Linked DNA regions of Homo sapiens: region 2 is linked to region 1. The links are contacts of gene promoters, found by promoter capture Hi-C in blood cells and fetal thymus (Javierre and others, 2016). All regions are on one chromosome and are shown on one strand. The core of a region is centred on a gene start or on the middle of the fragment in contact, and the rest is flanking DNA. Distances in the headings are between cores, read along the strand shown.

The links. The method cuts DNA at HindIII sites, captures the fragments that hold promoters and counts their contacts. A CHiCAGO score of 5 or more calls a contact.
Region 2: a contact is called between a fragment that was not itself captured here and the fragment with the promoter of HOXA10-AS in region 1, in 3 of 17 cell types (total CD8 T cells, activated CD4 T cells and total CD4 T cells). The highest score is 5.6, in total CD8 T cells.

The regions. Positions count from the first base shown.
Region 1 is chr7:27,164,212-27,170,686 of GRCh38, reverse strand. HOXA10-AS (HOXA10 antisense RNA) reads right to left here and starts at 1,788. Exons shown (of 3, transcript NR_046609.1): 1 at 1,694-1,788; 2 at 923-1,380. It overlaps HOXA10-HOXA9 (HOXA10-HOXA9 readthrough), which reads left to right. Exons shown (of 3, transcript NM_001433944.1): 2 at 5,720-5,809. It overlaps MIR196B (microRNA 196b), which reads left to right and starts at 1,124; the gene lies at 1,124-1,207. HOXA9 (homeobox A9) reads left to right here and starts at 5,150. Exons shown (of 2, transcript NM_152739.4): 1 at 5,150-5,809. The coding sequence starts at 5,230. It also overlaps HOXA10. RefSeq lists enhancers at 922-1,512, 1,513-2,103, 3,293-4,011, 4,860-5,736, 5,737-6,475. The HindIII fragment of the contact is 2,254 bases long and covers 86-2,339 here.
Region 2 is chr7:26,689,184-26,695,810 of GRCh38, reverse strand. SKAP2 (src kinase associated phosphoprotein 2) reads left to right here. Exons shown (of 13, transcript NM_003930.5): 10 at 5,449-5,526. Among named protein-coding and RNA genes, the nearest start is that of LINC02860, 55 kb to the right of the region's middle. RefSeq lists an enhancer at 5,628-6,627. The HindIII fragment of the contact is 311 bases long and covers 3,335-3,645 here.

The DNA of each region.
Region 1 (6,475 bases), core at 539-3,038:
AGAATAAATTAATATTGTATTGCTGCTGTGCGTGGAAAAAGACGATGTTTATGTTCTTATAGAATAAAAGCTGTGGAATGAAGCTTTTTAATTTTACCTCTTTTTTGACTTCTTATCTTCACCTTCCACTTTATCCCGTTCACCACTTTTACAACAGGAGGACTAACCCGAGCCCCTGCAATTACTTTAGGCATCTATTTAAATATTACCTAGACGGTCGTAATTTGTCTGGGCCCTATAGCCCTGGTGCCGTAAGGTTTGTCGGCTTTTGTTCAGTTTTATGGCTTGCTAGTATATCTGGATTGTGGCTGTCTTGGACCAGTGATTTCAGTTGAGAGGGGAGCTACATAGACAGAGGAAGCCAAACAGGATTTCTTTCGGGAGCCCCAGGGAGGCTTGCAGAGGCCGGTTATTTTGCGGGTGTCTGGGTCACAGATGACCCTCAATCTGAATCGGGGAGCAGGCCTGGCCCACAGCGCATCTCTAGCCGCTGGAGGCAGCGGTTAGGTGGACCCGGGCTGGACTGCATGGGGGCCTCCCCCTCCCCCAGTACGGCCTCCCCCACCTGGCGGCACTCCTTAGGGCCACGCGTTTCCTGCTTGCCAGAGTGGGGGGGGCGGGGGCTAAGGGGAGGGGGCGCAGGAGCGCGCGCCCCGGCGGGCGGGCAGCTAGGAGGGAGAGGGGGAGAGCGAGAGGCGGGAGGCCGGGGCCAGACAGGGAGCCGGGATCTGTACCGTCCCTGGCGCTTTCGAGCCTTCCACGGCTACCGCCTCTTGGCGCCGGCTCGCTGGGCTGCAAGATTTGGGAAAGCGGCGCGCACACTGCTTCTCGGAGCTGCTCTCGTCTCGCCTGCTCCCCGCCTTTATTCCTCTCTCCCTGCCTTTCCTCCCTCTCTTTTCCTCCCTCTCCCTCCCAGGAATACCTTACTGGGGCCTGTGGCTTCCCCTTCCTTGACGCATTTGCGGCCGCCTGGGGCACTCTGTTGCACTGGCGGGCGCAGGTTGCCTAGGGGCTGGGCTGGGCCGGGCCAGGCGCGATGGCAGGGTTCTCTCCTTGGCGGCGGCGGCAGCGGCGGAGGCGGCGGCGGCGGCGGGCGAGGCAGCCCTTCGCGGGCAGCACCAGAACTGGTCGGTGATTTAGGTAGTTTCCTGTTGTTGGGATCCACCTTTCTCTCGACAGCACGACACTGCCTTCATTACTTCAGTTGAAATCGTCTCCAGGTACCTCTGCGCGCGGGGGTCGGGCCGGGCGGGGCATCACGGCCCTGGTCGTGCCAGGCCTGCGGTGGCAACCTCGGCTTTCCCTGCTCAGGAGCCTCGTGTCTTTCTCCGCAGCGCTTTGCCAGCCGGCCGGCTTTCCCCTTCCACCACACACCTCCACCTGGTCACAGCAGGTAGGGTTAGGTTGGCTGCTCCTTCGCGGACGCCGGGGGCGTGGTAGGAATTCTGGGCTTTGGGCCATTCAAGGTCAGGGGCGCCCGCTTCCATCCTGAGCCTCCCACTGGAGGCCTGCGCCTGCCCAGGGACCTCCTGCCATTCTCTTGTAAGGCTGGAACACACACACACACACACACACACACACACACACACACACCAGTCCCGGGTGTGAGCTCAGGAAAGAACCTCCTTCCAGTGGAGACTCAGGCTGGACTAGGAAGGATAGGGCAGGCTGGGATCCTGGCCTTGTCACTTACCCTTCTCTCTGTAAGCTCGGCCGCTGCTAGGAGTCGCCTCTCTTTTCTTCCTTCTTTTCCCTGTCTTCCCTTCCTCTTTTATCTCTTCTTTCTTTTTTTCTTCTTTCCTTTGCTCCTTCCTGCTTTCTTTTCTTCCGTTGGTCTTTTTTTCATCTTCCGTCTCTGCCAGATTCTATCTCACCTCCTTATCTCCTTCCCAAAGCATCCTTGGGGAGGGGCCCAGAGCTGGCTTCAGGAGAGCCTAGGGGGTCTCACTTTCCTCTGCGGCTCAAGTAGAGGTTGGGAAGTCTGCCGAGGAAGGGCCCGCGTGGGGCGGCTGCCGAGGGCGGTGGGTTTGGGCCTGGTGTGTTACTCTGCAGACAAGGCCTCGGTTATGATCACGACCGGATGGCGGCAGCCTTGCGTTTCTTCGCCTGTCGCTAACGGCTGACTAGGAGATCTGATTAGGGGACATTCGCTGCAGCTTTGTGTGCCCATATCGAGGGCAGGGAGGCCTTCGCCAGCCTCACTGGGGACTGGAGCTGAGGCCCAACCAGCCTCGCTGGAGCCTGGCCATTCGCTGGGAAGCTCTTAGCTGGCTCTTCCCGGCCTGCCGGTCACAGCTTGGGGTTTGACCGCATTGAGGGAGACTGGCTAGGGCAAAGCTTGACTGCTTGCTTACTAGTGGCTTCCATTAGGTACAAAATATGTTCCATACAGCACCTTTGTGCAGCTGGGTGCTGGAGAAGGGGACCCTTCCAAGAGCCAGTATGTTTTAAATGGGCAAAAAGAATCCCAAATTCCAGAGCCATTGATATAAACTTGAGTCATCGTTCCAAATTGTAGTCTACAGATGGGAGCCAGTCTGACCATTTTCCCTACAGAAAACAGAAAACAAACTATCTCTCCCTACTCCCAACACACACAGTTACAGATTCGTGCCCACAAAGCTGTTTCCTTTCCCTGCCTGGACTGGAGGCCCAGGAACTCTTTCGTTGCACAGCCACCGACCTGCTGTCTGAAAGGACCACACACCCCATTCCCTTCAACTCCTCCCTGCCATTTTCTGGACCAGGGCATTGGATTTATTTCAGAGATCACAGTTTCAGAAATCTCAGTCGAGAAGGGGCCGCTTTAAATTATACTCATTTATTATTTCTTTATGCATACGCAATCTCTTTCACTTCGAAAATAAAAGCAGACAAAAAAGTCAGACTATTCTGGCTCCAAACCTTTGGGCTGAAGGAAGACAATATTTGGTTTTCTGATTTTTCTCCGCTTTCTAGGCACCAGTAACATCTGCTTAACACTCAACGCCTGCTAATTGTTCAGTAACTCTCTTATTTTGGGGCTAAGGCTGTTTAAAGGAACAGCTTTTTTACTTAAAAAATACTGAAATAATCAGTGTCTTCTCAGGCATAAAACGTGGAAAAGGCATCCAGACATGCCCAGCCCATTTGCAGACACTTAAAATTGGGAGCCAGGGTTTCCTCCAGGGTTAATTTTTTAAATGAAAATCTCAGAGGCCTGGCGGACTGCGGGGTATTTAGGACACGGTGGACTGTGGTGGGGGTGGGCATGACCTAGAGGAATTTATGGGGCAAGGAAAATATTAGGGGGAGGGAGATGAGGCGGACAGGACGGGGCCATTTCGGAGTTCATTGTGTCGGCCACTTCCCTCTTCCAGGCGCGGGTGCAGGAAGGGGCACCCAGTCGGTATCCGCGCGGCTTGGCAGCCTCGCTGGTATTTGGGAGTCCCAGCCGGAAGTGTGTCAGGGTGTTTGAGGGGGGGATTACTGGAACTGCTGGTGAGGATGAAGGCAAAAGAGAGAGAGAGAGATGGAAGCGCCCGAGGCCGCCAGCCTCGCCGCCAGGGAAGTGGGCTAATGAAAAACACACTGTTGCAGGCACAGTATCCACACGTGAATTTGATTACCCCTGTTCTAGGAGTCGCTGCTTTCTGTTAGGAATTGGGGGCAGGGGGAGTTTCCTTCCAATTAACGGAGTGGCGGCGACCTTTTAATTTACCCCCAACGGGTGAGAAATAAACTTCCCCAACGTGGCCAGGCCCAGGAATGGGACTGGAGTCGATGCCCTTTTACCCCTCCCCGTTCTAATTTCCAGCCCTGGCCTTGAGCTGTGGCTGCCTCTCTTTGGGCCTTGTACCTCTCCGCCGAGTCTCCGGGCCCCGTAGGTAACCAAGGCGAGGCCCGGAGTAGCAGCTGGAAAGGGAGGAAGGAGCCCTGAAAGGCTCACGCGGCCCCGGGACAGGCCACATCGGTGCGGGCCTCCCAGGTTCCGGAGCTGCGGGGTCTCTTAGGCGAGGCTGCCTTTTCCCAAACCGAACTTGCCTTCCATTCATGCCACTTGTAGTTTTTTCCCCAGCTGGGATTCACGGAGCGCAACCAGGCTTGCAGCGCTCATGGTTAGAGCCTCTGAGGCTGGAGCACAGGGCTGGGTCGCCAGCCGCCTGCGCCTGGGAATCCTGATTGCCAGCTGATGAGAAAGGCGGGCTGGGCGCGCGTGTGCGTGGGGTCGAGGGCCGGGGACCGAGCGCGCCGCACAACCAACCAGGCCCTCAAAACCTTCGCCCTGGTGGCGGCTGGCCGCTCCCTCCTGGCCAGCTCCTCCGTGGGGTCCTCGTAGCAAAGGCGAATTTAAGGGTTGCCCGGGCGCCCCTCGCTCCAGGCGGGTAGCTGTGGGGACCTACACCCGCGGTACTCCCTGAGCGGCCGGTCCCTGCCTGGAGTGCCCTGGTAGGGCCGGCGGCGGCTCCGTTTGGGACGGATCCTGCGTTGAATTTGACTTTTCGAGGGCGGCCGCGGGTAAACTCGCCTCTCCCGGGGACCGCAGGGATTATTTACAGGGAGCTCGCCAACCAAACACAACAGTCTAACCTTTCCAAGTCCTCGTAAATTTTTACAGCTGGGAGCCACGGCGAGGCAAACGAATCTGTTGGTCGTTTCCGACTTCCCGCCAGCCTGTGTGGCTTCTGAAACAATAACTCCTTATGAAATATCATAAATATAGATTTAAATACAGTAGAGCGACAATGCGATTTGGCTGCTTTTTTATGGCTTCAATTATTGTCTAATTTTATGTGAGGGGCTCCGCTGGCCGCACTCGCACGCGGGACCCGCGCCTTCTTGATGGCGTGATTAATTGTGATATAAAATAGTCCGCTTAAGAAGTGTGTGTATGGGGGGGGAGACGGGAGAGTACAGAGACAAGGCTAGATTTGATCTTTTAATCGTCGTTGGCCACAATTAAAACAAACCCCATCGTAGAGCGGCACGATCCCTTTACATAAAAACATATGGCTTTTGCTATAAAAATTATGACTGCAAAACATCGGACCATTAATAGCGTGCGGAGTGATTTACGCGTTATTGTTCTGCTGGACGGGCACGTGACGCGCACGGCCAATGGGGGCGCGGGCGCCGGCAACTTATTAGGTGACTGTACTTCCCCCCCGGTGCCACCAAGTTGTTACATGAAATCTGCAGTTTCATAATTTCCGTGGGTCGGGCCGGGCGGGCCAGGCGCTGGGCACGGTGATGGCCACCACTGGGGCCCTGGGCAACTACTACGTGGACTCGTTCCTGCTGGGCGCCGACGCCGCGGATGAGCTGAGCGTTGGCCGCTATGCGCCGGGGACCCTGGGCCAGCCTCCCCGGCAGGCGGCGACGCTGGCCGAGCACCCCGACTTCAGCCCGTGCAGCTTCCAGTCCAAGGCGACGGTGTTTGGCGCCTCGTGGAACCCAGTGCACGCGGCGGGCGCCAACGCTGTACCCGCTGCGGTGTACCACCACCATCACCACCACCCCTACGTGCACCCCCAGGCGCCCGTGGCGGCGGCGGCGCCGGACGGCAGGTACATGCGCTCCTGGCTGGAGCCCACGCCCGGTGCGCTCTCCTTCGCGGGCTTGCCCTCCAGCCGGCCTTATGGCATTAAACCTGAACCGCTGTCGGCCAGAAGGGGTGACTGTCCCACGCTTGACACTCACACTTTGTCCCTGACTGACTATGCTTGTGGTTCTCCTCCAGTTGATAGAGAAAAACAACCCAGCGAAGGCGCCTTCTCTGAAAACAATGCTGAGAATGAGAGCGGCGGAGACAAGCCCCCCATCGATCCCAGTAAGTGTCTCCTCCCTTCAAATCCGCCGCCGCCTCCACGCCGGCCTCCCGGATCTGCTGGCCCGCCAGGTTTCTCTCGAGCCTGCCTTCGTCCTCGCTGGAAGCCTCTCGAGTTGGGGCCAGGAGCCAGAAGTTGGTGTTTGGGACGCCTCAGATAGGGCCCCAAGTCTGGAGAGCAGTGAAGAGCGGCCCGCAGGGCTACGGGAGAGGAGGCGGCTGCTGCAGCGAGAGGGGGCGGGGCGGGCACTTCGGGACGAGCCAAGACTGGCCGCCCCTCTCCTTGGCTGCCCAGGCCCAGGACCGAGATACTTTGGGCCGTTCTTCGAAAGCAGTGCAGCCCAGAGAGCCTTTTGTACAACTAGATTGTCCGTGAGCGGCGGCAGCCAGGGCAGCCGGAGCTGGGACGCTGGGGGAGACGGCCGATTCCTTCCACTTCTTGCCTTCGGCCAGTGGCGGCGTAAATCCTGCCAAGATGAGGCTGCGGGCGACCCGGGCCACAAGGGTCCCCATGACAGATTATTCAAATAAGCCACAGACGTGATCAGCGGCCTTAGGGCGCCCTGACGGCTTGCCCAGCTCCGAAGGCCTTCCAGGAAGGTTAAATAAGGAGTGGGGGGCGTAGAGGGACAGGTTGGGAAAGAAAGACGAAGTCAGTGAACGGGACAG
Region 2 (6,627 bases), core at 2,241-4,740, 480 kb after region 1:
TTAAAAGCTAGAGGTGAGGAAGGGGAACTGGGAGAGGAGAAAGAAGACCATATATTTTGGGCAGCCCTGGTTGCAATTGTTTCTAAATCAGCACTAAAAAGTTTGCTTAAGATGTTCTTCAGATACGATGCTATGATAGTGTAGAACCTACTATTCTATGTGAAAATGTTTTCAAAGTCCACAAACAGACAGTATTTTAAGTAAAATTTTAGAAAGCAATCCACCTGTAAATTGAAGATTTTAATGAAAATAAAGGAGGAGACACTGTGGCTTAGAGTTAAGGCATATGCCTAAAGTTAAAATCCCAGCTTATGTACTAACTGGATGTATGAACCTTGACAAGTTATTCAAGCTCCATAAATTCATTTTTCATATTCATAAAATGGTGATGATAAAAGTACTTATAATTACCTCATAGAATTGTTGGAGGATTTAGTTACATAATGGATATAAATGCATATAATGTGAACATTTAAGCAATAAATATTCACATTTCCTGAGAAAAATATATAATATTAAATAATGCCTGGACAGGTGGAGATCTAAATCCAAACTTTATTTCAGAGCTTAACTTTTGATTCTGTGTTTTATGTTTTAAAGTACATTATAATTTAGTAAAGCTGTTTTCTGAGGGTATTTAGTGAGAAAGGTGATCATTATGTAAGTGAAAGATTTTTTATATCATCTTCCTCTTCTCCCTGGAAGAGATGATAAAATCAGTCCTCGGCCTTGATGTGAACATCGCATACCTTGAGTTGGTGTTAACAAATTTTCTTCAACCTTTTTTCAAGCAGTGTCAGCTAAATGGTGCCATTTGCTTATCACTCTTCTTTTTGGTTATTTATCCTAAAGATAAGAACATTAGTAAGCCGTAAATGCCCATTTTGTAAAAACTGCATAGCTAGACAGATTTGCAATCCCTATTAGGGTAATAATCCATCTGTTATGGAACTGGATCAATTTTGTAAATTAAATAGATTAAAAAGGGGGAAAAAGGGCCATGACTTTTCCCACAGTAAGCCTTTTCTCAAATGCTAAAAAGATTTGGGAAGACTCAAACTATTTGCCATTCTTCCTCTCTTTGCTTAACTCAGAGAGAAGGCCAAATATCTATTAAAAAGAGGGGTGGGTGCAGTTGTTTTTTTTTTTAATTCTTCAGGGTCTGATTGCTCCTGGAAGTTTCATATTTTTGACAGAGTTTATTGTTAAAACCTTTTGATGACTACCAGAACATTTCTGCTGTTCTCACTGATCAGTTTAGTAAATGTGTGACTATGTTTGAATTTTCTTCTGCACTTAGCTCACTTTACTGTTACTTTCATCCTGTCTGTTCAAAAAAAAAAAAAAAAATCTCCTGATGATTCTTCTAACAATGTGTGATTGGAATAATAACTTCACATGTTGAAGAGTTTTGTGCTGCAGCTGAGAGGCATGTAAATACAAGCTGCTTATTTGCAAGAAGCTTCCAGGTTTGCAATATGATTGCTATGGAAACCACATAATGAAAACCTTATAACCATCTGTGTGGTTTGATGGATTTTACTGCATAGCTGAGCTGTTTTTGTTTACTGTTATTAAAATGTTGAATGGAATATATTAACTCACAAACATTGACTACTTGAGGTATTAATTAGTATTGTACAATGACATTGTGCCTCAACACCAAAATAATACATATTTAATAATAAACCTAAATAAAAAAATATGTGAATGTATATATTTCTAATATATTGTGAAGGTGATTATTGCCTAGAATTTTGGTCACTTGTTCTTACATATTTTTAAGAGCTTTATTCTATTAATAAATGAATATGTTAAGATTTATTTGTATGATTTTTTTAATCCATTTGTTTATTCTGTATTTATCGAACATCTCCTTTGTGCCAAGTTCTATTCAAGGTTCAGTCTGAGGTTTTTTTCCCTGCCTAAGATTCAAAAACATACACCATATTTGATTTTGTTATCTTTTATATGGAAGCTATTTGTATTGTTAGCCAAGATAAAATGAGTTGTTTAAATATTGTTAAGAAAAATTGATATATTAAATGCATAAAGCTTTGGTTTAAAAATATCGCTACCAGGTTTAAAATGGAAAAAGGAAGTGTCCTTAATGAGCATCTCATCCTCTAAAATCTGCTTATTAAATGGCATCTTACATGGATTTCAATTTGGATATTTTATAGTAAACATTAATTCTTAAGTAAATACTTTTAATATCATTATTCTGATAATTTAAGAGTGCATATTTCTAAGAACAAAGCTCTCTGACACCAATATACAATCCAGAGCACATGTTACTGGCACTTAAGTTTTAATAAAATAAAAAATTCATAGTAACAAATACTTCTAAATTCATTGTTAACTTTGTCAAAGAGCAGAGTTTTTTCATTAAGTCTTGTAATGAATTTTTATATGTTCATGCTGATTTGGGTGGTGAAATCTAAATCCCACAGTCTCTTTTTTTTTTTTTTTTTTTTTGAGATGGAGCTTCACTCTTGTCGCCCAGACTGGAGTGCAGTGGCGCGATCTCAGCTCATTGCAACCTCCGCCTCCCAGGTTCAAGCGATTCTCCTTCCTCAGTCTCCTGAGTAGCTGAGATTACAAGCGCCTGCCACCATGCCATGCTAATTTTTGTATTTTTAGTAGAGACGTGGTTTTGCCATGTTGGCCAGGCTTGTCTCGAACTCCTGATCTCAGGTGATCCACCCGCCTGGGCCTCTCAAAGTGCTGGGATTACAGGCGTGACCGACCATGCCCAGCCCCCACAGTCTCTTCTTAAAAGCCACTAATAATACTTATTGTATTGATGCGGTTATAGCTTTTGACTGAGGACGAGTGCCTTTATCCATTTTTTAATTTATTTCTTACTATTGAATTTGTGACTAAATTAAAAGGGGAGTGGGTGCTATGGAAAGAAAGTGTGAAAAGTAAGGAAAGCTTTCTCCTTCACCTTTTACCAAATTATCTGTCAATAAAATGAGTAGGTTGGAATAATGACTGTAAACGTTCCTTCTACCTTTAAAAATTTATATGGAAACACCCTATTAACCCATTTATTAAAGCTAGCCTTTAAGGTTTGGCATAAGTGAGATAACTATTGTTAAAAAGAAAAGAGACAGGATACTTTTTAAAAGAGTGGTATACTTTTATTAGGTCTTCTATATATTTGACTGAACCATATTAAATTGTCAGTGTTATGTTTAACAATATGAATAAAATGCCAGATATTTTCAGGTGTCCCTTATATTGGAGTTGTCATTATTTTGTTTGAATTGAGTTACAGAAATTCAGAACAGTTCTATTTGTCGTGTAAGTACAGCTACCCTCTCAAGCTTGGTTGAAATGCTGATTTTGATTCATCCCCATTTAACATTTTCAGGAGACTCCTAAATTTCCACCTGTAGTCCTGACTGCTCTACCATACTTTGCAGTTGCCCAGACATGTTCTCTGGGTTGCCTCACCAATACATTAAATTCCTCCTGTTGAAAACACAACTCTTTGTGTTCCCCAGTAAGATAGATTATTTTGGCTATCCTCCTTTTAGTAATAATATGTCCATTTCTCAGTTAACTAAGCTCAAAACCTTAGCCATCCTTTGTTGCTCTTTTCCCCCCCCTCATTCCTCCACATTCAGGCACAAAGCTTATCCATTCTAGTTCCTTTACCTCTTATAACCATCTCCTTTCCATTTCCTTTGCCCCTTCAGTTCAGGACTTCCTTCCCCTTTATCCACAGTAGTCTCTCTCCCGCCCCTTTTTTAGGCTGTCTGAGACAATGGGATCAGATGTCCATTCCTGAAGCATAGCTTCAGTCCTGCCCTTTCTCTGCTCAAAAAACCTTCGAAGGCTCTTATTGCCCACCAAATAAAAGCCTGCAGTCCATAACAAGATGTTCATGGCCCCTCAACAGCTGGTCCAAACTATGAGCGTAACTCCTACCCAGCTCTTCCCCTATGTGTACCAGATTCTTTAGTCAAAATGAATATGAACATGCCTTTTTCTTTTAAAGATCATACCTATCCCTCCGGAAATATCCTTCTTATCCTCTCTCCTTATTTAAACTCTCTCCATCCCTTGGAGCCTCCGTGGTACTCCCTAGTTGGGGGGTTTCTCTGCTGCACTTCTTCAGTGCTTTGTGCATCACTTGTCAGGTTTAGGCCCCTTCAGCCTGTTTTCCTTTAGAGCTTGTCTTCTGTCCCATCTGTGCTGTCAGCTTCCTGTGAGCAGAGGCTTCCTGTTACTTTTACCTCCTTGGTAGATCTCTTCTGTCTCACAGTTAGTTAATATCCAATGAAGATTGATTGACTGATTGATTGAATAGTTACAATGACTACATTTATATATTTTGCATATTTTTCTTTAAAGTTTTAGGAGTTTTCTTGAAATTATGATTCTCTTTGAATCCAGTTTTTCTTTGGCATGCCATTTGTTTATATGTCCTGCCTTAAGTATTTCTAGGTTTGTATGCAAATCCTTAGGTGAGGAAAAATCATGTAATAAATATTTTTCTTGGTGTAAATGAATTAGTTTATTAAGTCTATTTAAAGCTCTTCTCATTTAATTTTATCTTATTTCTTTGCATAATTTGGGGAAGGAATGGTATAGGTGAGTGTGGAACAAATGTAAATGGAGCACTGATTATATGTAGGATAAAGAACATTGACTTTATAATCACAAACTTAAGTTCGAATGACACACTTTGGAAGTTACTTCACCTTTTTGAGTCTCTAAAGATAAACTTGTCTGTAGAATGAGGATTAAAAATTATTTGTCTATGAGATTTTAACATCCAGCATTGTATATGACACATAATAGGTCCTTGGTATAATTTTGGGGGAATTACCTCAAAGGATGAAGATCATTATAGTATCTTCCTGTGAAGATTGAGAAAACGTATGAAATTATGTGATACTCAAAAAAATGATTTATAGGTTAACTGCATTTTTAATCACACATTTCTCCTTGCTATATGATGTTTTAGGGACCATGATTTTATATATGATACTCCTGCCACACAGTACAATGTGGTGTATCAGTATAACGCTGGGTGTTACTTTACTGGATTTAAGGGTTTTCCTGAAATTAAGATTGTTCCAGATGAGTTTCTAAAAGTATTTAAAACAAAACATGCAGTGCATTAGTACATATCTTAAATTTTGCCAAGCCAGTTGGAAAGGTTGCTATTTGGAAGTAGCTAGTATTTTATTGGAAAGTTGGAAAGTTTGCTATGTGGAAAGTTGGAAAGGTTGCTATTTGGCAGTAGCTAGTATTTTATTTATTCAGTGTTAGATTGTCGAAAAAGGACTGTGAATCTTGAGTTATTTTATTCTTTGAAAAATAATGTTTATGTGTTATAAACTTTTAGTTTTGCTTTTAAAATTGAGTGAGTACTGTAGTGTTATCCCTGAGAAAACCCTTCAATGTGCCATTGATAATGTTTATTTACAGAAGAAGAAGAGGACAGTGCTCCAGTGAAAGTGGAAGAACAAAGGAAGATGAGTCAGGATAGTGTCCATCACACCTCAGGTAATGACTTGTGTAGCTTCTTGGCAAACCTTATTTTGCTTTTGTTCACTTTCATTTTATCCATGTTCTTACTGTTCTAAAGATGTTTACACAGCTCCCCAAAGTTGGCATTTTTGGCTTGGATATCTTATGGCTGATAAGCTGCTTAGTCCCATTTAGGATGCATGAAAACCACTTGAGAAGGATTTATAAAGTAAGCCAATTTATACAAGGTATTCCTTCCTGAATTACTTTGTAATGACTCAATTAGCTTTCATTTCTGCACAAAGGAGATTTAGTTGCATAAATTAGCTTATCATCATTGAGGAAGTGTCACTGCTAAAGGACAGTTTATAGATACAACATGCAGTTGCTGTCAAACCTATAAGAATGTAATATAGACATCTGTGTATACTTTGTGCTTGAGCAGAACAGACTTCTGCCATTCAGAGACTAACAGGGGACAACAAGTTGCCCAGGGGACTGGCAATGTAGACATCTCTGAAAAGGTCAACTTGACACAGGCTCTGACAGTCGACCCACAGCTCTGTCTTCTTTGATAAAAATCAGATAAACTTAAGACTGCTAATTGATCTGCAGCCTGTTTAAATGTTGGCCATGCATATCTTCATTGCATATGATTAACACAGAAAGCAAATGAATTGGGTAAGAAATGCCAGAGTCCAGTGACAGCAGCTTAAAAATTGGAAAAGGACACTAGTGGCCTAAAAGGCTAGGAAGGATGTTCCCCTTATCCATTTCCACTTGGCACATATCCCCAAGTACTAATTATGAATGAGACTGGAAAAATAATTGCACACACTCTGTACAAAATCACATGATACGGACAACTTTTCTTGCTTGTTGTTATTTCCAAATAGCAGGAGATAAACCATATCTGTAGTGCAAGCATGAGGTTAGTTTTGATAAACCAGCAATTATTTTACACGGAAAGAAGAGAAAGACTGCCTTCTTATCAGGACTTTACACCTCTTCATAGCCACATGTCAGCTGGGGCAAGGTCTGCCATATCATCTCTGTGTCTTGCAAAAAGCTAGAGTTAGGGTCACCTTCCCCTCTCTGATATGTCCATACATCACTCTTTCAAGCTGTCAAGGCCGG